Regions from separate parts of the Homo sapiens genome. Here regions 2, 3, 4, 5, 6 and 7 are each linked to region 1. The links are contacts of gene promoters, found by promoter capture Hi-C in blood cells and fetal thymus (Javierre and others, 2016). All regions are on one chromosome and are shown on one strand. The core of a region is centred on a gene start or on the middle of the fragment in contact, and the rest is flanking DNA. Distances in the headings are between cores, read along the strand shown.

Evidence for each region. The method cuts DNA at HindIII sites, captures the fragments that hold promoters and counts their contacts. A CHiCAGO score of 5 or more calls a contact.
Region 2: a contact is called between a fragment that was not itself captured here and the fragment with the promoter of KRT26 in region 1, in 7 of 17 cell types (activated CD4 T cells, M0 macrophages, naive CD4 T cells and 4 more). The highest score is 8.7, in activated CD4 T cells.
Region 3: a contact is called between a fragment that was not itself captured here and the fragment with the promoter of KRT26 in region 1, in 7 of 17 cell types (activated CD4 T cells, naive CD8 T cells, total B cells and 4 more). The highest score is 8.5, in activated CD4 T cells.
Region 4: a fragment that was not itself captured here is called in contact with the fragment with the promoter of KRT26 in region 1 in 6 of 17 cell types (M0 macrophages, M2 macrophages, naive CD4 T cells and 3 more); the score reaches 7.8 in M0 macrophages.
Region 5: a fragment that was not itself captured here is called in contact with the fragment with the promoter of KRT26 in region 1 in 4 of 17 cell types (M2 macrophages, M1 macrophages, megakaryocytes and 1 more); the score reaches 7.4 in M2 macrophages.
Region 6: a fragment that was not itself captured here is called in contact with the fragment with the promoter of KRT26 in region 1 in 2 of 17 cell types (erythroblasts and M2 macrophages); the score reaches 5.4 in erythroblasts.
Region 7: a fragment that was not itself captured here is called in contact with the fragment with the promoter of KRT26 in region 1 in 1 of 17 cell types (M0 macrophages); the score reaches 5.5 in M0 macrophages.

The regions. Positions count from the first base shown.
Region 1 is chr17:40,770,679-40,773,923 of GRCh38, forward strand. It overlaps KRT26 (keratin 26), which reads right to left and starts at 1,523. Exons shown (of 8, transcript NM_181539.5): 1 at 995-1,523; 2 at 476-558. The coding sequence starts at 1,435. The HindIII fragment of the contact is 2,390 bases long and covers 1,270-3,245 here.
Region 2 is chr17:41,654,088-41,657,332 of GRCh38, forward strand. It overlaps LOC124904004 (a long non-coding RNA gene), which reads right to left and starts at 1,047. Exons shown (of 2, transcript XR_007065756.1): 1 at 1-1,047. RefSeq lists enhancers at 1-161, 162-858. The HindIII fragment of the contact is 2,956 bases long and covers 119-3,074 here.
Region 3 is chr17:41,632,215-41,635,459 of GRCh38, forward strand. It overlaps the pseudogene KRT42P. Among named protein-coding and RNA genes, the nearest start is that of KRT17, 9.3 kb to the left of the region's middle. The HindIII fragment of the contact is 4,882 bases long and covers 1-3,245 here.
Region 4 is chr17:41,551,870-41,555,114 of GRCh38, forward strand. It overlaps LINC00974 (long intergenic non-protein coding RNA 974), which reads right to left and starts at 2,626. Exons shown (of 3, transcript NR_038442.1): 1 at 2,411-2,626; 2 at 4-668. RefSeq lists an enhancer at 446-946. The HindIII fragment of the contact is 643 bases long and covers 1,407-2,049 here.
Region 5 is chr17:41,532,464-41,535,708 of GRCh38, forward strand. No RefSeq gene overlaps it. Among named protein-coding and RNA genes, the nearest start is that of KRT19, 5.8 kb to the left of the region's middle. The HindIII fragment of the contact is 1,193 bases long and covers 902-2,094 here.
Region 6 is chr17:41,452,920-41,456,164 of GRCh38, forward strand. No RefSeq gene overlaps it. Among named protein-coding and RNA genes, the nearest start is that of KRT32, 13 kb to the right of the region's middle. The HindIII fragment of the contact is 509 bases long and covers 1,468-1,976 here.
Region 7 is chr17:41,402,663-41,405,907 of GRCh38, forward strand. The region is part of intron 1 of LOC100505782 (a long non-coding RNA gene); the gene reads left to right. Among named protein-coding and RNA genes, the nearest start is that of KRT31, 6.7 kb to the left of the region's middle. RefSeq lists an enhancer at 1,028-2,227. The HindIII fragment of the contact is 2,100 bases long and covers 740-2,839 here.

The DNA.
Region 1 (3,245 bases), core at 273-2,772:
ATTGCTCTTTTTTGTTGTTTGTTTTTGAGACAGTCTCACTCTGTCACCCAGACTGAAGTGCAGTGGCCCCATCTCAGCTCACTGCAACCTCCACCTTCCGGGTTCAAGTGATTCTCATGTCTCAGCCTCCCAAGTAGCTGGGATTACAGGAGTGAGCCACCATGCCTGACTATTTTTTTGTGTGTGTACTTTTAGTAGAGACGGGGTCTTGCCACATTGGCCAGGCTGGTCTCAAACTCCTGACCTCAAGTGATCTGCCTGCCTCAGCCTCCCAAGGTGCTGGGATTACAGGCATGAGCTACTCTATCCAACCATGATAGCTCTTTTTATAACGGCTTATTTAATTCAATTTCTTTATTGATCTAGTCTGGCTTTAGAAAAACATTTTGGTTTTCAAAGCAAAATATATATTCCTTAATCCAATTGTAATATTTTAACTTTTATTAATATAATTAATCAGTTTGTTTTCACCTACTTCAGCCTGAAGTCATCAGCGGTCAGTCTGGCATTGTCATTTTGTAGAACAATGCTGGCATTGCAGATGGTCGCAGAAATAATCTAAATAGGGAAGATTGTGAAAAATGTTAATTACCAAAAGTCAAAGGAGGCTCCAGACTTCAGTGTGATTTTATATCTTCTTAATCTGTCAAACATCTGTTTTAGTATCTTTTTTCTATGTTAAAGAAATCTGGATTTTCTTCAGATAATAAGCATCCAGAGCTTAAGAGCCACATAGATACTTTTACTACTTTTGATCAAATGGTATGAGCTAAATATATGAAAAACGAAGTGACTATATCTGTTTTGAAATGATTTCTTTTTCATTATTTAATTCTACAAGATTTTATTGCCAGGTACTGTGCTTAGCACTGGAAATACAGAGTGAACAAATCTTACATCACATAAATTTGTTAGGCACATTTTATATTTTCTCTTCTTTAAATTATCAACACACAAAGTCTGTAGTAAAAGTATGCAAATCCCTATTTCTTACCTGCCTTTTAAGATCTTCTATGACTGAGAAGTATCTGCTATAGTCATGATCGTGTTCCCGGGAAGAGCCAGGCTCACATTTCTCGTACCAGCCCTTGATCTTCTGCTCCAGGTCTGCGTTGGCCTCCTCTAGAGCATGCACATGGTCCAGGTAGGATGCCAGGCGGTCGTTGAGATTCTGCATGGTCACCTTTTCATTCCCAGAGAGGAGGCTGTGCTCATTGCCAAGAAAACCAGCACAGGCACCACTTCCCAACCCTCCACCGCTATTGCAGAAGCTTCCTCCAGAAGAGATGCCCTCAAGAGTACAAGAAAAGCTGCTTCTTGCTCCCGATCCAACACACACATTCCCAGCCACGAAGCCTGTTCCTCCACCGGACAGCCTACCAGACCCAGTTCGCGAGCAGATCCTCCTGGATCCACCAGAAAGTCGAAAAGACATGGTGGCAGCACAGCCGGGCAACCCCTTCCCAGAAAGAGGAGCAAAGCCAGGGTTCACCTTCCACACTTGTTAGCTCCCTTGGCCTTTTATAGTATTCACTGGGTCATTTCAGTCTTGACTATGCCAGTCTGTAATAAAATTTACTTGCATCCTAATTGTTGTTTTTCACAATTGGGTAATTTTTAACAGCGTCCAGTCTGTAGGTGGAAAGGTGCCCCAAGGATATTTTTTATATATAAAAATGGTGCCAGGTGAAGTAAAACTAAATCATAGCCTCAAAGGCCAAAATTAAATATGACTAAATGTGCATCTTTTTGGCCACTGGAATATTAATAGAATCTAGATTCTCCCCCTGCCACATATAACAAAGAATTAATAATTCCAATGAGAAATGTCTCCTACTTTTGTCCTGTTAACGCTCATAGAGTATTTCTAGTATTCCCACTTCATTGAGTGCTTCCTTTCTTCCTTTCGTTTCTTTTTCTTTTTTCCTTTTTTTAAAGATATGTGGTCTCGCTATGTTTCCCAGGCTGGTCTCGAACTCCTGGCCTCCAGTGATCCTCAGCCTCAGCACCCAGCTCAGCCTCCTGTGGCCAGCATTACAGGTGTGAGCCACTGCCCTGGGTGTCTGGGTGTGTGTTTTCCTTCTTATCAAAACCAGAAAATCTCAGCATCTATTGATCTTTTGGTAGTGGGAGATTTTAAAAGAAATCTACCATTTCTTGAATTGAAAACTGAAGTAATAGAAATCCTGCAGTCCTGCTTATTGTTAATTTCAATATAATTCATGAATATGTGATGATGGTGGAGAATTAATTCGATTGAGATTTCTTGGTTTGGTCCAGGAGCAGGACATCAATTCAACTAACAGTCTCCAAATTGTTCACTTCCCTACCCCTAAATAGTGTTTACTGTCTTTTAGTTTAAATGTATGTATTTAAGACATTAGGAATTATTTTGAGAAGTGAGCATCATATTGATTAGCAAGGAGTAAAATATATAAGGAGGGAGGTGTTTTCATCATTACCTAGAAAACCAGTACTTATAGTACCCTAGAGAGAAGATAAGTTGTCACAGGGAAGTACTCTTTATTCTCTTGCCTTGATGCTCTTGGGAAGTTATCCAGGCTTGGATCATTTCCCTACTGGGCAAATGAAAATAATAGCATCAAAGAGTCTCAAATGAATGTTGAGCAGTTCCAATCATGAATGACGATAAGACAGTTTGAAAGGCACAAACATTTTTAAATGTTAATTATTTAAATTATTATAATAAAGTGGACATGTCAGACAGGGTCGGGTCTCTATCACCTATAATGATACAAATTGATTGGTTAACTAATTATGGGTTTAGTTTTGAAACAGTAATTTTCTTCCGAATGATATTTTTCAATGTTGTGGATAGTGAATCCTTTGGAAAACATCCAACATTATTGTCACTAAATCGTATGGAACATTTAGTGGACTGCATGGATTTTCTAAATCAAAAATATTTAAAAATAAATAATAAATACAGAGCTATAACTGGACCATCAGCTTATGTTTAGAACAGTGCATGATAACCTAGATACAGTTCCTGTTTAGAGACTTTTTACTGATTTTGTTGTGACCTGGTCAAATTTTTAATCTTTTGCTAATTTTTCCCAGAAATAAAACAAGAAAAACAGAGAGTATTGTCAGTTTAATGATTTATAAGGCTTGAGTTTCTTAGGTGAGTTATTATGAGATTTCAAAGTATTATTAACATAATCTATTTATCTCTAGATACTTTATAAATACAAATTATCTTTTGTGAAACAAGTTAAACACAT
Region 2 (3,245 bases), core at 347-2,846, 880 kb after region 1:
GCCCTGGCCACTGTGGGAGCTTGGGCTCTAGCAGGCTGATCTCCCCCAGCCTGCACCCCACCCAGCAAGGACATGCAAGCCAAGCAGTTCCCACACCCCGTTCCTGGTGGCTGCCAGAAGCTTCCTTACAAGGCCCCAGCGCTGAGCTGGCTCAGCTGCAGGCGGGGGCCTGGGTGGGGCACAGCACACCTGGCTCAGCCAAGCCCAGACGCACCCTGCAAGTGAGGAATGCGGACGCCGCCCGGGCTGGCCCTGGGAAAGCTGCTGCCCTCGGCTCCTGCCCAGCCCTGACTCAGCCTAGGTGGGCCAGGGAAGCTGCAGCCTCAGCAGAACCAAGTCTCCCACCCCACCCTCCCCGCTGGCCTGCCTGGGATTGAACCAGGGGACAGGTCCTGGCAGGGGACTGAGAGTAGAGACAGCACCCCCTGGCCTCAGGACTTGGGGGAACAGCAGGGACTCTGTGGGACCTGCCCTTCTCCTGCACTGTCTGGAGGGTGCCAGCACAGCTCTGTCCGGGGGGGCTGCCCACAGCACATTTTCCCAGATGCCTGAGCCTCAGTTTCCTCATCCGTAAAAGGGGGCTAGTGACATTCCTGCCCACAGTGCAGGGCTGCAGTGGTGGAGGAGGTTCCCGGGAAGCATTTGAGAAGCAAACAGACCTCTTCCTAAGAAACAGAAGCGTCTGCCTAACCCCATGAGGCCAGGTGATCCCGTGCTCCATGCAGAAGAAACAGAAGCGTCTGCCCAGCCCCGTGAGGCCGGGTGGTCCCGTGCTCCATGCAGAGCAGGGTGACTCCATCATCCTCTGTCCCTGGCCCCAATACGGTTATTCCAAACTCCCCAGGACAAGGGCTGTGTCTCCCCCTCCGACTAGGCGGTCCCTGAAGGCTCGGGGCATGTCTCCCCTCAGACAAGAGGCTTCCCAGGGACAGAAACTCCATCCTCCTTGCTCCATCGCCCCACAGTCCCATGCCCTGCACTGCGGAAACCACAGGCCAGTGAAGGCCAGAAAAACTGCCCGTCCCCTCCTGGCGCCACCTTACCCCAGCCTCCCCAGGCCCTGACATCCACCTCCTTGCCCACCCAGCCAGCCCCCAAACGCGACGCTGGAGTGCCTCACGGTGCCCACCCAGACCCTGGGGATCAGGAGGCAGAGCCCCCCAGGTCTGGCGCTGGTAGAATCTCCCATCCCTCCCTGCCTGCAAAGAAAGGGCCCACTGGCCTCCCTCCCTGAGCCCTCCCACAGCTGGGCTGGCCAGAGAGAACTTTCTCCCTCTGCTCTCTTTCTCTGCTGTAGTTCAAGCACAGACCCTCTCACCCCAGCCAGCCCTTCTCCACCTTCCGGGCGCACAGTCTTAGGGGTGGAGCAGAGGCTGAGGTTGGGGGCCTCACAGTCAAAGGTGCTGAGACAACAGCCCCGCTGCCCTGTGCTCACTCAGAAGCTCCTGGGGAACTGGAGTGGAGGGGAAGGGTCCCCAAGCCCACAGGTTCTGGCTGCCCCTGCCACGTCCCCTCCCCCAGCCAGGCTTCTCCCAACTGCGGCAGGGCGTCTGGGCTCAGGTTGGGGTGCAGCGTTGGCAGGACAAACAGTCTCCAGTGTTGGGTGTTTGCCTCGGTTACCAAGGAGGGAGGTGAGGGGCCTGGCTCCCTGCCATGTTTGGGCCCCGGGCTGAAGGTGTGGGTGGCAGGGAAGGTGGAGGATTTGAGGTGGGGAGGCTCACTTCCCGCTCCCAGGGCTCGAGGGCAGGGCAAGCCAGCTGGGACTGCCAGATCCCTGGGCGGATTCAGACCTGCATCGGCCCTGCCTTTCTGCTGGCTCTGGGAAACTCAGTCAGGCAGGAGGAGACGCTGGGGGCGGGGCAGCCTCCCTTGCTGCTCAAAGCAGGGCTGTGGGCTGGAGGCTGGGCCCCGGCAAGTCAGGTACTGCCGTGGGTGTCCCAACCTTCCGGGACTGACGGCACCACGGCCTAACTCAGGCCGCCCGGGAGAGAGGCCTAGGAGCCCAGCTCTGGGCCCATGAATTTGGACAAGTCACCGCCCCTCTCTGGGCCCCAGTTTCCCCACCTATATAGTGTCAGGAGCTGGCCTGTGTAGTCCCACAGGGGCCTCCTTTGTTTTGTCCTCCCTGTCATGAGCTGGGCAGGTGGATGCTGAGGGGTTGAGGAGTTGGGCACTGAGCCGGGAGTTGTGACCCGGCCTTGAAGCCCTGGCTGGAAGGGCTCAGTACACATCCAGGCGGCCCTACTGCCCTGTCTGAGGCTGGCATGCAGTGAGTGCCCGGCTGAGTGCAGGAGCCCAGGGCTGTGGTCAGGAATGGCCGGGCCCTTTCTCCCTCTCTCAGCAATGATGAGAGCCACAGCCCAAGGAATCCCCTGCTGCCTCCTGCTCCCAGGTCTCCATCGCAGCCTCAGCATGACCGGCTCTGAGCAGGAAGTAGGGGAAGCAGGACAGAGGCTGGCCTGGCAGTCAGAGAGTGCACAGCCTGGCTCAGGAGGCTGGCAGGTCATCAGGGGCATAGAGCTGGCCCTCGTTGATGGGGCAGGGATGGCTTGGGGAGGGTGGAGACGCCGAGGCTTGAATTAGGGGGTGGGGGGTGCAGGTAGGGAAGAAAGGAAGAGGACTTGAGATTGTGACCAGGCAGTGCCACAAGGAACACAGGAGTGTGGGCCTTCCATGGGGAGGGAGGAAGGTGAGGCCAAAAGATGGCGGGGCAGGGGAAGGGACCACTTGCCTTGCAGCCCGGCCAGAGAGAGCGAGAATGAGCAGTTCCCACACCATGAAGACCTTTGCCCTGGCCCTGCTGGTGGCCCTGCTGTGCACAGAGAGACCCCAAGGTCTATGCTGCCACCAGTGCTTGGTGGCCCCAGCCTGGCACAGGCATGCCTGCCCCGCTGCCACATGCCCCTTCCCTGACAGGGTCTGCGTCTCGGGATATGAGAGACACAGGGAGTCTGGGTCCCTGTGGCATCTGGGAAAGTGAGAGTGGGGAACAGGCTCTGCCTCCTTTCCCTCCTGCCCCAAGAATGATACCATCATTTGGAATGTGGAGGTTCTGGACACCTCTATGAGTTCCAAGCTTTCTTGTTGCAAGAGAGGCCTCTGTAATGCGGGGGTCCTGGTGGCAGGCAGCACCTGGGCCCTTCCTTGGGACTCCTGCTCAGCCTGGGTCAGTTCCCCTCTGGGCCCTGCTGTGATGGCCTTTCCTGTCCCCCTTACCCCATGGCCCCCTCCTCTGTCCCCATGCA
Region 3 (3,245 bases), core at 505-3,004, 860 kb after region 1:
AGTATTTCTGCTTCCAAGGGGAGATTGCAGGAATTCCCGCCTAGTGGAGGTCCCGGGCAGGAGCAGACAAAGCCCCTCGTAGGCAGCACCAGGCCTGGCTCTCCACCCAGGAAACTGAGCAGGCCTAACCACCAGGGCCAGCTGGGCCTAACCTGACTCCCGCCTGCCTCCCCTGGCTCCCCTGGCCCCCCTGGCCACCATACTCATCACTTGCACTCCTCACCTGCCACTGGTGGCTTTGCTCTGTAGGACCCTCCAGGGCAGGGTTTGTGCAGAAGACAAAGTGGCCATGTTTACAGAATGCCAAAGCCATGTTCTTAGAGGTCATGAGAGAGAGTGTGTGTGTATGTGTGTGTGTGTGTGGTGTGTGATGTGTGTGTGGTGTGTGGTGTGTGATGTGTGTGGTGTTTATGTGTATGTAGTATGTGTGTATGTGGTGTGTGTGGTGTGTGGTATGCATGTGGTGTGGTGTATATGTGTGTGTGGTGTGTATGTGTGTGTGAGATCTGTGTGTATTGTGTGTGTGGTGTGTATATGCGTGTGGTGTGTGTGGTGTGTGGTACATGGGTGGTTGTGGGTATATATGTGTATGGTGTGTGTGTAGTGTGTATGTGTGTGGTGCGTGTGGAATATGTGTGGCATGTGTGGTGTGGGGTGTGTGTGTGGTGTCTGTGTGTATGTGTATGTGTGTGTGGTGTGTGTGGTGAGTGTGTGTGTGATGTATCTATGGTGTGTATGGTGAGTATGTGTGTGGTGTGTGTGGTGTTTGTGTATGTGTGTGATGTGTTTGGAGTGTGTGTGTGGTGTTTGCGTGTGTCTGTGATGTATATGTGGTGTGTGCGTGATGTGTGTGTGGCGTGTATGTGTGTATGTGTATGGTCTGTGTGGTGTTTGTGTGTGTATATGTGTGTGATGTGTGTGTGCTGTGTGTCTCTGATGTGTGTGGTGTGTGTGTGGTGTGTGTGCGTGTACGTGCGCGTGTATGTGTGGTGTGTGTGGTGTGTATGTGTGTGATGTTTGTGTAGTGTGTGATGTGTATGAGTGTGTGTGTGGTGTGTGGTATGTTTGGGTGGGTGTGTATATGTGTTGGAGAGGGTGTGGGGGGTTTGGGGGGGTGTGTGACTAATATGTGTGGAGGGGGTGTTGGGGGTGTGGTGGGTATATGTGTAGGTGTGTGGTATGTGTGTGTGTATGTAGTATGTGTGTATGTGGATGTGCCTGTGAGCTATGTGTGAATGTGTATATAGGAGTCTTTTAGTGTGTGTGTATCGATCGGTGGGCATGCGCCTGTGTGTGAATCTGGGAGTGTGAGGTGTGAGTGGGGCGCGTGGCGTTTGGGGTAGTGTGTGATGTGTATGGTGTGTGGTGTTTGTGTGTGTGTACGTGTGTGCTGTGTGTGGTGTGTGTGTGGTGTTTCTGTGTGTGTATGTGTGTGATGTGTGTGGGGTGTGTGTGGTGTTTGTGTGTGTACGTGTGTGGTGTGTGTGTGGTGTTTGTGTGTATGTGTGTGATGGTGTGTGTGGTGTGTGTGGTGTTTGTGTGTGTGTATGTGTGTGTGTGGTTGTGTGTGGTGTTTGTGTGTATGTGTGTGCTGTGTGTGTGGTCAGTAAGGTTCTGCATGGTCTTTTCACCGCCCCCGCAGCAGGGCATCCGCCACGTCAACGCTGGAGCCAAAGCCCCCACCCAGGTTACAGGTGTAGCCACCGCTGTAGCCTCCCCCAAGTCCCACCAAGAAGCAGGAGGAGGTGACCGACATGTTGCCACAGCTGCTGACTCCCAGGAGGCTGGCGAAAGGCACCCCCAACACTGACAGATGACATCCAGGAGAAACCCCCGCCAGGTGTCCACAGGCCCTTGACAGAGCCAGAGGTGGAGAACTGGCAGATGCTGGTAGTGGTGACAACCAGGGTGTCCATGGGTCGGGTGAAGAGTCTGGTCTGGATGGAGACCCTGGGTAGCCCGTTACAGCCGGGCTGAAGTGGGGCTGGGACCCTGGCCCTTGAAGTTCAGGCCAAAACCCCAGGAGTGTATTTTGCCTCCTCCCACCCACCCAGGGCCTGGGGCTCAGGCTGGACATATTGAGAGCCTCCCCAAGGACCCCTCCATAGCAAGAGCCCAGCCTGAGCACCAGGGCCTCAGCGGTCTGTTCAGACACAAAGGTGGTGGCCAGGCACGGTGGCTCACGCCTGTAATCCCAGCACTTTGAGAGGCAGAGGCAGGTGAACCACCTGAGGTCAGGAGTTTGAGACCAGACTGGCCAACATAGCAAAACCCCATCTCTACTAAAAATACAAAAATTAGCTGGGCGTGGTGTCACGAACCTGTAATCCCAGCTACTCAGGAGGCTGAGGCAGGAGAATAGCTTGAACCTGGGAGGTGGAGGTTGCAGTGAGCCGAGATCACACCATTGCACTCCAGCCTGGGCAACAAGAGTAAAAATCTGTCTCAAAAAAGAAAGAAAGAAACAAAGGTGGTGCTGGTCTGTAGCCCTGGGGTAGGGTGACCCTCCATCCTCAGCCACAGTTAGGAGGCTGAGCTTATTCTTGTGGGGAGCCCGGAGAACCCAGCCCTGGGAGCCAGCACGGGCACAGGACAAGGCTGCACAGGCCAGGAGCCGGAGGCTGGCCTGGCCCCTCACCCAGCATTCCAGGGCCCTGGGGTAAGGGTGGAGAGATCGGGGCCTGACATCATTGCCCAGGTACAACGTGGCCCTGGTGGAGACTCCCAGTCAGAGGAGGCAGAATTAGCCTCTGACCTGTGGGAGCCCCACTCTCTTGGGATTCTTCCAAGTCCGCGGGGAGATACAGCCCACAGGTTCAAGGATCCCTGTGTCTGAGGGAAATAGACGTGGCCGCTGAACTGAGGGAGCTTTGGATCCAAGCCTTTCAGGAAGTCAGTTCTAGAGCCTCCGTTCCCTCGTTTGTAAAAGGGGGACCAAGTCTTGTCTCCCAAAGTCTTTGAGGGAATCTGGAGAGATAATGACGTCAGTAAGGCTCTAACAAAACAGGAAGCAGAGGTGGGGCTGGGAGCAGGGGTCTGAGGCCAAAGGGTTAGGGCAGCCTCCCTCCTCACCCGAACCTGAGCAATGTCAGTCCAGAGCAGTCCCGGAGGAGGGGAGGGCAGCCCAGGAAGGCCACAGAGGAGCAGGATCTGTGCAGGAGCCAGCGTCATGCCCCGAGGAACGGCCCCTGCAAAAGAGCAGCATGATCCGCAGGCTGGTGGCTGGCACCGCTCCACCCAACAAG
Region 4 (3,245 bases), core at 478-2,977, 780 kb after region 1:
CACTGTTCATGGGTAGCTGCTTGCTTTCCAAGAAGACATTTCCAGAGCTTTCCTGCTCGTGGGAGGTGTCTGTAATTGTTTTAGACAGCATGAGGTGAAGAGGGTGGGCTTGCGGGTCAGACCCACTCAGATCCTTTGTCAGCTGAGTTATGTCATTTCTCTGAGCCTCAGTTTCCCATCTGGGAAGCTGGGGGTAGTGAGAAATAAGGAAGATGACTTCTGTACATGCTTGCCACCGTCCCAGGACAGACGAGGCCCAGCTGCCATACAGAGGAGGTGACAGCATGGAGCGGGGTCAGGGGTGCAGAAGGAGGCGCTAGGAGGAAGGGACAAATGAGGATAGAGGCTGTTGTCCATAGAGCACACTCCTTGGAGGGAGGAGGGACCCAACTCAGACACAGCTCACTCAGGTCAGGGGCAGGAGCCTCTGAGGTGGGTGGGGGGGTGTGACGGGCTGGTGGGAGCTCGTAAGCAGGGACATGCCCCTGCCCTGGAGGTTACTCAGTGGGGCTGGGAGTTTCGCAGGTGGTGCTTCTCAGTCCAGCGCTGCTTCCGTGGGTTAGGATGAAGACCCATCTTCTTGCCTTGTCCTCCTCCACGAGGGGCTTATCCAGAACAAAAGCTGTTGGCAGTTCCTGGCCAACAGGTTCTCCTCCTCCACTGCAGGGCTAGAAAAAGGTGAAAACAAAAGGGACATGTGCTTCTCTGTGGCTCTCGGGGTACAGTTCAGTCTCCCCACCATGAGCAAGTCCTCCACGACTGACCGCCTACTCCCACCAGCACCTCGTCATCCCTCTTCAGCCCCTCCTCACCCTCTGCACAGTAGCCCCAGGAAGTTCAAGTTCCAGCTCCTCCAGTGGGCCACTTTCAGTCACACCTCCAGGCCTTCACTGATGCAGTTCCCCCTACCCAGAACTGCCCACCCCCAACACACACAAACACACACACACACACACACAAACACACATGCACACCACCTCCATTGAATATCACCTCCACCAAATATCACCTCCACCAAATATCAAATATCAAATCCAACATCTTCCTGGTGTGTTGACCCAACACTTTCTCCAAAGAATGTTCCCTGCCTCCCAAGACTGTGTTAGTTGTTTCTGCTGTGTGGCCCAGAGTCCCTGGGCTTCCCCCTAATGGAATGCAGCATACTGTATGGAGGTGGCTGTTACCTGTTGGTCTCTCCGACAAGACTCTATGGGGGCAGACTCTGCCTGGGTCACTGTAGTAGCCCCAGCTACTAGCCCCATGCCTGGCACAGAGTAGGCCCTCAGTGATTACCCATTGAATGAAGGGGTCAATGACAGGCAGAGTCTCCACTTGGGGCTCCCAATGAGCAGAGAACTTGGGGAAGCTAACCTTCCTCCCCACACACACCCCACCTTTGAATCTCAAGCTTGACTCTTATGGGTTTGGTGTTGATTCACTTCCCTGAGGTTTCCCTCCATCTTGACAAATGCTCCTTCTGACAACCCCAACATGACTGAGTCATGGTGAGGGCAAGAGATGAAAGGAATCATGTTTGAGAGTTTGGCCTGAGTTCGGGTGAGGATGGCATGTCTCTGAGGCTGAGGGTGCTGGTAGCAGCAAAGACAGACTGAGGGATTCCCGGGTGGGAAGAAAGCTCAGGAATATCAAAGCCATCGGAGGACACATGAGTGTCACACCCAGCATGTGGGTGCAGAGCCGTCCTTAGGGACTGTCTGTCCTTGCAGGGTTATTCACCCAGGACCCCTCTGCACCCACACTCTGCTTCTGATACTCATGTGTTCTCCGACAGCTTTGATCTTCCTGGGGAGAGATCAAGGTAACTCTTGGAGAAAATTGAGGCCACAGCGCAATCTTAAAAAGTGTTAAAAATTGTTAGAGGCCAGATAGGTCGTGCTAAGAGCAGGAGGTAGGGAGCCAGATCAACACTGGTGTGGGTGACTTGGGCAAGGAACTTTTCTTCTCTGAGCCTCAGTTTCCTCATCTGTAAATGGAAGCAACAAGAGCAACCTCACACAGTTGTGAGAAATCAACAAAATGACATATGGAAGCTTCCTGGCCCATGCCTATCCTAGGAAGCTTCCCTAGCCACCATGGCCAGCTCAGGAGACCCCATCTGAAAGTACAGCCCATCCCTCTCATCACCGATGGCACTCACTCAGCACTGGCCTGTCTGCCTGTCTGCCTCTGGCACCAGACTGTGAGCCCATGGGGGCAGAGACCTTGTCTGTTCTGCTCACAATTCCATCTATTCCCAATCCCTGCCACAGAATAGGCACCCAGTGAAGATCTGTTGAATGAATGAATGAATGAATGAATGAATGAATGACTTGAAGAGGGGATGAAAATAGACAGGAACTCCAATACGAGATTTTCAAAAACAGGCAGGTGAGGACCCACCAGGCCTTACCTCTCCTCACGATCTTTTAACTTCTTGTCGTACTATTTCTCCTGGGTTTTATTTTGTTGTTGTTGCATCATTTCTTGAACTTTCTTTCTGGTTTCACAAGAATTCCCTCAGACAATCCCAGTGGATCTCAGTCTAGTAAGAGGAACAGAGAAAGGAACTGATTTTATTCCTGTTTGGGCCTGAGATGGGGAGTGCTTCAGAGCCTGAAGCCAAGAGGCTGCAGCAGCAGCAGCAGCCTCCACAACCAAGCAGGACACTCCAAGGGGCGGGGACTCGAGATCAAAGCTCTAGAGATTTGGGTAGATATTTGCGGACTGTTAGAATGATATGAATAATAATAGAGACCCTCCTCTGTCATCCTCCTCCCTGCACCGTTTGCTCATTCACCCATTCCTTCCTTTGACAAGCACAGACCCAGGGCCTTCTAGGGGGAATCTGAGATCCCAGGAAAGAATCTACCTGTGCCAGGTCACTCGTCTTATTCTCAGCTCTTCATACAGTCATTGCTTCCCACGTAAGCCTTTTTTCTTTCCTTTTTTTTTCTTTTCTTTTTCTTTTTTTTTTTTTAATTTAGAGACAGTCTCATTCTGTTGCCCTGGCTGGAGTACAGTGGTATGATCATGGTTCACAGCAGCCTCAAACTTCTGGGCTCAAGTGATCCTCCCACCTCAGCCTCCCAAGTAACCCAGTAATTAGGACAACAGGTGCATGCCACCATGCCTGTCCAATATTTTTTTCTTTTTTTGGTAGATGCGGGGTCTTGCTCTGTTGCCCAGGCTGATCTCAAATTTCTGGCTTCAAGTGATCCTCCTACCTCAGCCTCTCAAAGTGCTGG
Region 5 (3,245 bases), core at 248-2,747, 760 kb after region 1:
TGGGCCATTCAAGCAAGTTTCCTCCAAGTTGAGCCTAGCAGAGGAGACAGACTCGTGTCCATGAGCAAAGCAGAAGGCTCTGTTCATAATCTGGAGGAGAGGAAAGGTAAATGTGTGGAAAACTTCATGAGCTTGCATGTCCTGTCAATTAGTAGCTCCTTACCTGAACGGCCTCCGCTTCCCCAGGGACCACCAGCACAAGGAACTTCCTCACCCGCTCCTCCATTCATTCAGTGAACATGCATCAAGCGCAGCTTCTGTGCTACGCATGCTGCCAGGGGCTGGGGCACAGAAGTAAATACAAATATTTCCTGCCTCTAAGAGGCTGACAATCTGGTAGGGGGGTGTATAGAAGTGTATTAGCTTTGGTGAAATGTGGTAGGTTCAATAGCTACATCAATTTTGACTCCTTCCTAAAACCCTGCTATGATATGACAGTTAAGGAGTATTTTAAGAGAATGGAAGAAGAGGTGAGGCACAGTGGCACACGCCTGTAATCCCAGCGCTTTGGAAGGCCGAGGCGGGCAGACTGCTTGAGCTCAAGAGTTTGAGACTGGCCTAGGGAACATGGCGAACTCCTGTCTCTACCAAAAATGCAAACAATTAGCTGGGCATGGTTGTGTGCACCTGTAGTACCAGCTACACAGGACGCTGGGGTGAGAGGATCACCTGAGCTTGGGAGGTGGAGGCTGTAGTGAGCCAAGATTGCGTCACTGCACTCCAGCCTGGGTGACAGAGTAAGACCCAGCTGGAAGGGAGGAAGAAAGGAAGGAAGGAAGGAAGGAAGGGAGGGAGGGAGGGAGGGAGGGAGGGAGGAAGGGAGGGAAGGAGGAGGGGAGGGAAAGAAGGAGGGAAGGAGGAAAGGAAGGAGGGAGGGTCAAAGATGAGAAATGTCAACAAAAGCTTTAAAGCTCAAAAATGGTAACACAGAAGATGAGAGAAAGCTGAGACCCAGGGTTTGGGGGATTAGGAAGGGGTCAACAGAGGAGAGAGCAGGAAGCCCGTGAGAGGCAAGCACATTCTCAACATACTCTAAAGAAGCTCAAGAATTGGGGCACCACAGACATGGAGAGGAAAAGTGGAAGAGGGACCGTAAGCAGGGCTGGCTGGAAGTTTCTGTCAACAGTACCAGGCCCCCTCCCAGACCCCTACCCAACTAAGGCAGCCAGGGGACCACCTCTCCCCAATTCAGGAGAAGACAGGAGATTTACTTTTCCTGATTAGACTGGCCTGCTCACAACGTTTGATGATGTCAAGTGTAGAGAAGCCATGAGTAAATGAACCTCCTCAAACACATTGGTGGGAGGTGGGTTGTAGTAACCACTTTGCAGAGCGATTTGACAATGTCATCATTTTTTTTAACATTCATGCACTTCTTGAGCCATCAGTTCCACTCTTCGTGTTCATCCGAAAGAAACCCTGGCCCGTGTATTGAGGAAGTCATATAAAAGGATGCCCTATGCAGCATTGTTTGCTACAGTGCAAAGACACAAACAATCACTAATGGCGGGGAGGCGTTCAGTAACTATGTAACATCCTGCTGTGGAGGACTAGAAATTAAATGGAATGAGTAATGACAATGAATAGTGACACTGAAAACCCTAAAGAACTAGTTATTGGGCCGGACATGGTGGCTCACGCCTGTAATCCCAGCACTTTGGGAGGCCAAGGTGGGTGGATCACCTGAGGTCAGGAGTTCGAGACCACCCTGGCCAACATGGTGAAACCCCGTCTCCACTAAAAGTACAAAAATTAGCCAGTCGTGGCGGCGGGTGCCTGTAATCTCAGCTACTCGGGAGGCTAAGGCAGGAGAATTGCTTGAACCCGGGAGGCAGAGCTTGCAGTGAGCTGAGATCGAGCCATTACACTCCAGCCTGGGTGACAAGAGTGAAACTCCATCTCAAAAGAAAAAAAAAAAAAAACTAGTTGTTGGGTACAGTAAATCTAGTTGGAGAGCAACACACTTAATATGATAAATTCATGTCAACATACATTCAAAAGATGACTTATTGCTAAGGTCCATATGAATATGTATGAATATATGCATAGGTAAGGAAGGAATCTGATTGAAGGATGGTAGCCAATAGGAACCTAAGCTTAATCTCTATGGTTTTAAGTTTTATAAGAATGTATTTAGTATTTCTTGTTAATTAAAGTAAATAATTTCTTAAGTAACACTAAACCACAGACATTTAGAACTAGCCAAATTTCATATAGTCAATACCCTCTTCCCCTCCCTGCACTCACCACTGACATCATTGTCTCTGCTCATCCACACCAACCCTAGCCTTGAATTGAGAAATGAGAGAGGAAGTTTTGGAAGAGGGAGAACTAGATGTGAGGAGAAAAGAGACCCTGGAAAGGGTTTCCATCCTCGTGCCCCCACCCCTGGGTCCGCCAGGCTAGTTTTACTTCTTTATGAAACAAGAAGGCAAAACGGACAAGAAGAACTTTGGAAGAGTCTGAGTACAGGGAGAGCTCCTTGCAGCCGATGACTTACACCTGAGGAAAGCCCTCCCACTCTGGTTCTCCAAGGATCCATCGTCTGGAAGCATCTGAAGTTGGCCCCCCTGGGTGTTCTCACAACAGACAACAAGGCTCTCCCAGGTGGTGGCGTGGATCTGTGGGGCTACAGCTGGTGGCAGAGCAGAGGGTATTCTATGCAAGACAGCAGCCACCTTGTGGGCACATGCGAGGCATTCCCCTGGGGACTTTCTGAAATAACTGGAAGATCTTTAGGGGGTGCTGGAGTGGGAGCCACCATGTGGGCCATCAGGCTAGAGCTATTGACCCAGTATTGAGGTATGCCTCAAACCAATCAATGTGATCAAGTATGTAGACACTGGGAATTATGTCTGCCTGGGGGCATTGAGAGCTATTTAATTACAGAGGCATGACCCTTGAGCAAGAAGCTGACAGACCAGTAGGTATTTCTCAGGCAGAAGAGTAAAGAGAATGGGGGCCTGGAAGAGATGAGTAACCGGGCCCAGCTTGGGAGACTACTGGCAATTCAATATGGTTGGGCCATGGCAGGAGGGGAGGGAAGGGGGTCGTTGAGGACAAGGTCAGCTGTGGGGGAGCTGTAAGCAAGACAATGGAAAGTCATTTTCATCAGGGATGGGATGTGGGTTTTGTGTGGCAAATGGGTTGATGTGTCAAGGGAAGCAGGGATGACCAGGGATAAAGAACCCAGTTTAGGGTGTTTTAAAATAGTCCATGCTAGAGATGAGAGGGTCTGAATCTAG
Region 6 (3,245 bases), core at 472-2,971, 680 kb after region 1:
AGCTGAATATCAGCACTTAATGGAAAATACTAAATAAATGTGATTAATTTTTTAAAAATGAAGTTAGGTTGTTCATCCTTTCCACCATCTTGTACAGAACAGGAACTCCAAAACAAATAGAAAGATGAGAATGCCACAAGAGACGTTCAGATATGCGGCTGTGGGTTATTCCATGGAAGGCAAAATCCATCCCAGGGGGATTAGCTTCTAGAGAGGATTCCAGGAGGTGGGGAATATCACCTGGGTTTTGAAGCCCAACTAGAATTTGGCCATGCAAAGATGAGAAAGAAAGCACTACACATGTGAACAAACATTTTGTGAGTGACAACGCAGTTTGACAGAAGCATAGGGCAAGTGACAAAGCAGTTTGATAGAAGCACAGGATGTTTGCAGAAGATTAGAAAGAGGTAAGCTACAAAAAAAAGTGAGGCTGAGAACATGGCAGCCTTGAATGCCAGGCTAAAGAGCTGAGGCTTCATTTTGTAGGCACTGTCTGCTCCCCAGCACCCAGCGATGCAATCACTCATTGCTGGTGCTCAATAACTAGTGAGTGAATGGTGGCATGTCCTTAAATAAGGCAGGATCTGGATTGTGAAGAAATAAATCCATATCCCACTCACAGTCCTCTCATTGCAGACATCAGCAATGATGCTTGTTGAATGGAACTGGTTGTAGAACCAAGTGGTTGGGCCCTTGACATCACAGTTTATTTCTGGCACCTTCAATCCATCTTTATGAACATTCATGGACTGTCATCCCCCCAGGCAACCCCTCCAATTCTCCCATCACCAATCCTCAGCCCTCTCTTTCCATGCCACTGACACCAGAGCTCAAGGCCTCATCTTACTTTTTGTTGGAGCTCCTTAATGGTCTCAAAGTGTGAGCAGTAATTGGAGCATATGTCAGGGCACTGCCGTTTGCTCCACTGCTGGCTCTCAGCACCACCCCTGCTTCTCATTCTCCTGCTCCAACTGCTGCAACTTCTGCAAGCAGTTGGCCAGGCACTCACTTAAGAACTGCATGATCCCTTTCCCACTGCTGCTGAGGATGTCTTCACTGAACCAGCCACAGGTGCCCATACTGGCAGGGATGTTCCTGGTCCCTGGCAGAGGACAGGCAGAGTGACTGCTGGCAGGGCCAGGCTGGACTGACTGTGAGCCACAGGTTCTAAGGAGATGGCTACTAGGTTGGTGACTCTCTTACAGGTGGGCCCCAGTCTTAATACTGGGATCTACAGACATTGGGTACAGAGTTTCTAGAGTGGTTTCTGGCCACAGCCTGTCTGGAGCAAGGAGGCTTCAAATGGCTCTTGCCAAAGCTTGAGGAGCAGGGATTTCTGCTTTAACTAGAAGCCATGGTCCTAGACAGTTGAGTTGCAGATTGGTGACAAGGGCCAGGTGCTCAGGTGTGAGTGTTTCCTCACCCAGAGCTTTTATTCACCTGCCATAGGAGCAGATGTGATACACAAGCTTTCCCCCAATGAATCCTCATTTGTTCTGCCATCAGAACAACCCATCAGCAGTTATTCAGTCCTCAGAAGTAGCTCCCCACTTTATGAAAGAAAGGGCTGACTTTGGACTTCTTGTTACTGCCTTCTGTTGTGAAAAGAAATGTTAAATGTTTTCTCTTTAGAGATGCCCCATTGAAAAGTTAGACTTTGTTCCTTGAGTGACTATCTGGCCTCTCTCTAGGAATGGCATTGGCTCTAAGATGAATCGTCCTCTCCACTGACCTTCAATACCCAAAAAAGTAAAATTCTCTGATAAGAGCCTCAGGAATCCCTAAAGAGCAATAGAGCAAAGACTGCTAAGTTATTAGAACTAAAGAAAACTTCCAAGTACTAATTCAACCTTTCGTGCTTCAGAGACCAGAGAAGGACAGTGAGCTCCCCAGGGATGCCAAGCAAGTCAGATACAGAGCCAGGACTGGTCCCAGGGCCCCTAGCACATTCTGTTTCCTCTGCACCAAGATGGACAAGCTTTTTCTGTTAAAAAGACAGATGCTAAATATTTTAGGCTTTGCAAGTCGTATACTCTCTTTGTACTGCAACTACTTAGCTCTGCCATTGTAGCACAAAGCAGACATAGACAACAGGGAAATGAATGGGTGTGGCTATGCTCCAATAAAACTTGATTTACCAAAACAAGTAGCAGTGGGGTTTGACCTGTGAGCTGTAGTTGCCATCCCTGCTTCACACAGCACAGTGAATGAGGCTTAAAAATTGGACCCCTTAAGCATGTGGGAGACCTTCAGTCCGCTCTGGAGCCAGAGGGCTGGGCAGAGGGAGGGCACCTGGGAATGGATGGTGAACTCCAGGACTGGACGCTGAGCCTCAGACACCAGGGCCTTCACTCTACCAGGGCATTTACACCAAGACTGGAAGTTCATCCAATGCTCTTAGAGCAAAGCAAAGCTACCCATATGTTGTTGTTGCTGCTGCTGCTGCTGCTGTTGTTGTTTCTGAAACTTGGGCTTCAGAATGGCTCCAAAATATGACTCAGCTGCCATTGTAATTGGGGAAAGTCAGAAGAGAAGAGAAATTTGTTGCCAAAGCATGTTTTCTTTACTCAACATTCATCAGGCACCTACAATATGCCAGGCATCATGACAGGCATTTTTATATGTACTATATCCCAACAACTCTGTGAAAAAGGTAGAATTACTCCCATTTCTAAAGGGGAGAAGACTGAGATGCATAGAGATTAAGAGTTCTGCCAAAATCACACAGCACATTAGCAGCAGAACTGGGGGTCTAGCCCAGTTTTTCTGAAGCCAAAGGCACTGATCTTCTCCATTAATCCTAGATGCTCATTGGTGACTTTGTTTACATATTATGATTAAGGGACACTGCTATTTAAATACAAATTTGTCTTGATCAGTTGGGCAAAAAGATAGACATCAAATGATCTTAGGAACTTTCTGTTTAGCCGAATTGATATCATTGCATTCAAGTGTTACATTTTATGAAATACAGGCCGGGTGCAGTGGCTCACGCCTGTAATCCCAGCAGTTTGGAAGGCCAAGGTGGGTGAATCACCTGAGGTCAAGAGTTCGAGACCAGCCTGGCCAACATGGTGAAACCCCATTTCTACTAAAAATACAAAAATTAGCCAGGCATGGTGGCATGTGCCTGTGGTCCTAGCTACTCAGGAGGCTGAGGCACAAGAATCACTTGAACCCAGGAGGCAGAGGTTGCAGTGAGCCAAGATCATGCCACTGCACTCCAGCCTGGGCTACGGGGCGAG
Region 7 (3,245 bases), core at 540-3,039, 630 kb after region 1:
CGGAGGGAGCACGCAGTCCTGCTGGTGAGTGGACACAGTTGTGCCCCCTTGAGACCAGAGAAACCTCCTGAGGGCAGAGGGCCTTGGAGACCAATGTGAATGACTGAGGCAGGTTGTATAGGATATCCAAGAACCAGGGAGGAAGGAAGGGAAAGGGAGGTTTGGATGCAATAACCAGCATCAAACGGGGGAGCCTCCAGGCAATGGCCAAAGGCCAGAAGCTGAGTCTAAAATGCTGATTGGGGACAGCACCGAGAAGGTCACCCCTAGGGAGATCCCAGACCCTAGGATACCTTTCCCGTAAAATCCATCCAGGATTTCAGAGTGGTCTGAACGTGAAGTTTTATCCACATGTACCTCCAGCAAGGCCCTCACAGTTGGGAACAGGGAAAGAGCAGGGAAAAAGAAATGAGAAGACTTGGGGTTGAGTGCGTGGAGCTGCCCCTCACCTGCTGTGAGGTGCAGAGGGGGCATTTCACCTCCCTACACCTGTACTTCTCCCACTGCACGATGGGGATTGTGATGTCTGTTCCCCTCTCTCAAGGTTGTTTGGGGCCTCCATTTGGATACAACACAAAGTACTTTAACAAGTGTTTTGTAAATGGTGAAACAATGAACATCTATAGGGATTCTGTTTCCCTCCTCCTCTTTCTCAATAGACAAGGTGGTTTTAAAATGGCAGGAAGTGAGTTGAGCTTCTTTGTCAACTCCTAGTTTATTAAAATTGCCAGAGTCCTCAAGCTTCAAGATCCTGTGAGATACTAAAGGACTTTTATTCCTTGTACCACCCTTTGTGGCATAAATTCTCAGAAACGTTTCTTCTAACATAAACATACTCATTTCCTTCAAGGAAAGGAATCAAAACAATGGGGTCATTATGATTCTATCATCCTTTTGACAAAATCTGAGACTTGGCCTCTGTAAAGCACAGTAGTTAAGAGCACAGTTGCTGGAGGCAGGCTGCTTGGATCTGAATCCTGGCTTCACCACCTAATAGCTGTGTGACCTTGGGCATGTTACTTAGCCTCTCTGAGTCTTGGCTACTTGTCTGCAAAATGAGAAAACCATAGCATTGGCTTTCTAGGATTGTTGTAATGATTAAATGAGTTTACCCATATGACTGTAGCTATAATTTAGACCAGCGCCTGGCTCATAGTAAGAGCTTGATGGATATATGGTTCTATGACAATGATGATGATGGTGAAGCTATATGATTTGATGATGATGATGATGATGATTCTGGTGATGGTGATGGTAATGATGACCTCTGTGGTTTCCAGGGAAACTCTTCACACACGACAAACACACAGATGTGCGTGCACACACACACATGTACTGTCTCATCAAAGCTAATCTTTTAATTAGAAATGAGAGAGCACTGGATGTGAACTTAAGAAACACAGGTCAATCACCCTGGGGCCCCACTGACTCACTTTATGTCACCAGCAGAATCCCTTAACCACTGAATGACTCACCTTCTCTCTCTCTCCCTTAAATGGGAAGGACAATGCTTGCCTGTGCCGTCATGGTGCAAGAATAAGTGGGTTTATTTTGTTAGACAGCTTTGAACTTGTTGGATGAAAGGAGCTATTTAAGTACAAAGGAGATGAGGGCAGCTGGGTCAGGTACTAAATTAAGACTAATCGAGATGGCTCTTCATTATTGAGAGCTTCTCTTGGGTAGGTGCCCAAGGGGTGTGTCACGTGTGCCAAAACAGTTTTACCACTTGAGAAAAAGAACAGAGGAGGGGAGGGCGTGGCAGCCTCTGACCCTTCTTGGGCTTCCTATGCTGGAAATCCCAGTGTCTCTCAAGCAGATCAGTCCTATGTACATGAGCAGTGACCAACAAGTAGGACGCTGGGCTTGAGAGCAGTTGGAGGCAGAGCAACAAGATTCTCACTTAAGCTCCCTCCAGCCTTGGGGCTCGGGACTGTGGTCACTCCAGCACCACACCGCTGTATCAGGAAGACCTGGATTAAACCAGAACCAGCTGTACTTGTAAATTTTTCAGCAAACTACAGTGATTCAGAGAATTCACAGAGGGAAAGGGAAGACCAAAACCAGCTCCTAAAGTAGATTTGGTGGTTCCACTTCAATGCCTGTGGTTTCACTGATCAATAAGACATAGAAAGCAGGGACGCACAGAGTTAGGGGGGCTACAGCCATCTCAACCAGCCCCATCAGTTCCCTAAGTGTTCCCCTCAACATCCCCATCAGTGATTCTGAAGCCTCTGCTTGTCTCCAAGGATAGGGAACTCACTGCTTCTCTTCTCTGGCCAGCTGTGATGCTGAATTCTGGAGATGTGCTGATTCTCAGCCACGGCTATCAAAATATGGAGCTTTTGATTCATGTTCTACCATCTGCAAATTCCAAGACAGACAGTTGCCATAAGGACTCACCAATGGGGGTTACTGGGGAGGTTGGATGGGTCAGCTTGTTTGGGCCTTTCTAGACTGATAGAAATAACTATCATGTAACATTTTCAGAGTTTTGCAATGTAAAAGAGAAAGGCTCTATCCTGATCTGATGGTATGAGGGATTCCTCACTGGAGGACATATCAGGACGGCAAGGCCAGCCCTTTCTGTAGAGGGTCTAGCTAGTCAAGGGCTCATTCCTCAAATAAACTTCCTAACCCAGTGTTTCTCAAACTTGAACCAACATCAGAATCACCTGCAAGTCATGCTAAAGCAGAATGCTGGTTCAGTAAGTCAGGGGTGGTGCTCAAGAATGTGCATGTCTAGCAAGTTCTCAGGTAATGCCAGTGCTACCTGCTGGCGGACCACGCTTTAAGAACCACTGTCCTAAACCTTCTCATGTTTAATTTGTTTCCCCCTCAAAGCTTCCAAAGAACGGGCTTTGGATCTGGTTCAAAGAGACTAGGTTTCAAGTCTTGACTCAGTAACCAACTGAGAATAATAACAGCTGCTTCTTCTTTGCAGGGCTGATGTGGTGCCCTGTGACACAATGTCGGCGAAGCCCCAGCCAGTGCCTTGTTCATAATGGGCATGTCATCCTAAAAGCTCAATTTAAGTTACCTGTTCTGGGGCTTCTGATTCATGTTCTACTGTCTACAAATTCCAAGCCAGACAGCTGCCAGGACTTACCAGTGGAGCTTACTGGGGAGCTTGGACGGGTCAGGTTGTTTGGGCCTTTCTAGACTGATGGCGATTACCATCAGTTAATATTTTCAGAGTTTTGCAACGGTCTGTGGTGCCGCAGATTTGAGCTCTTCCTTTACACAAG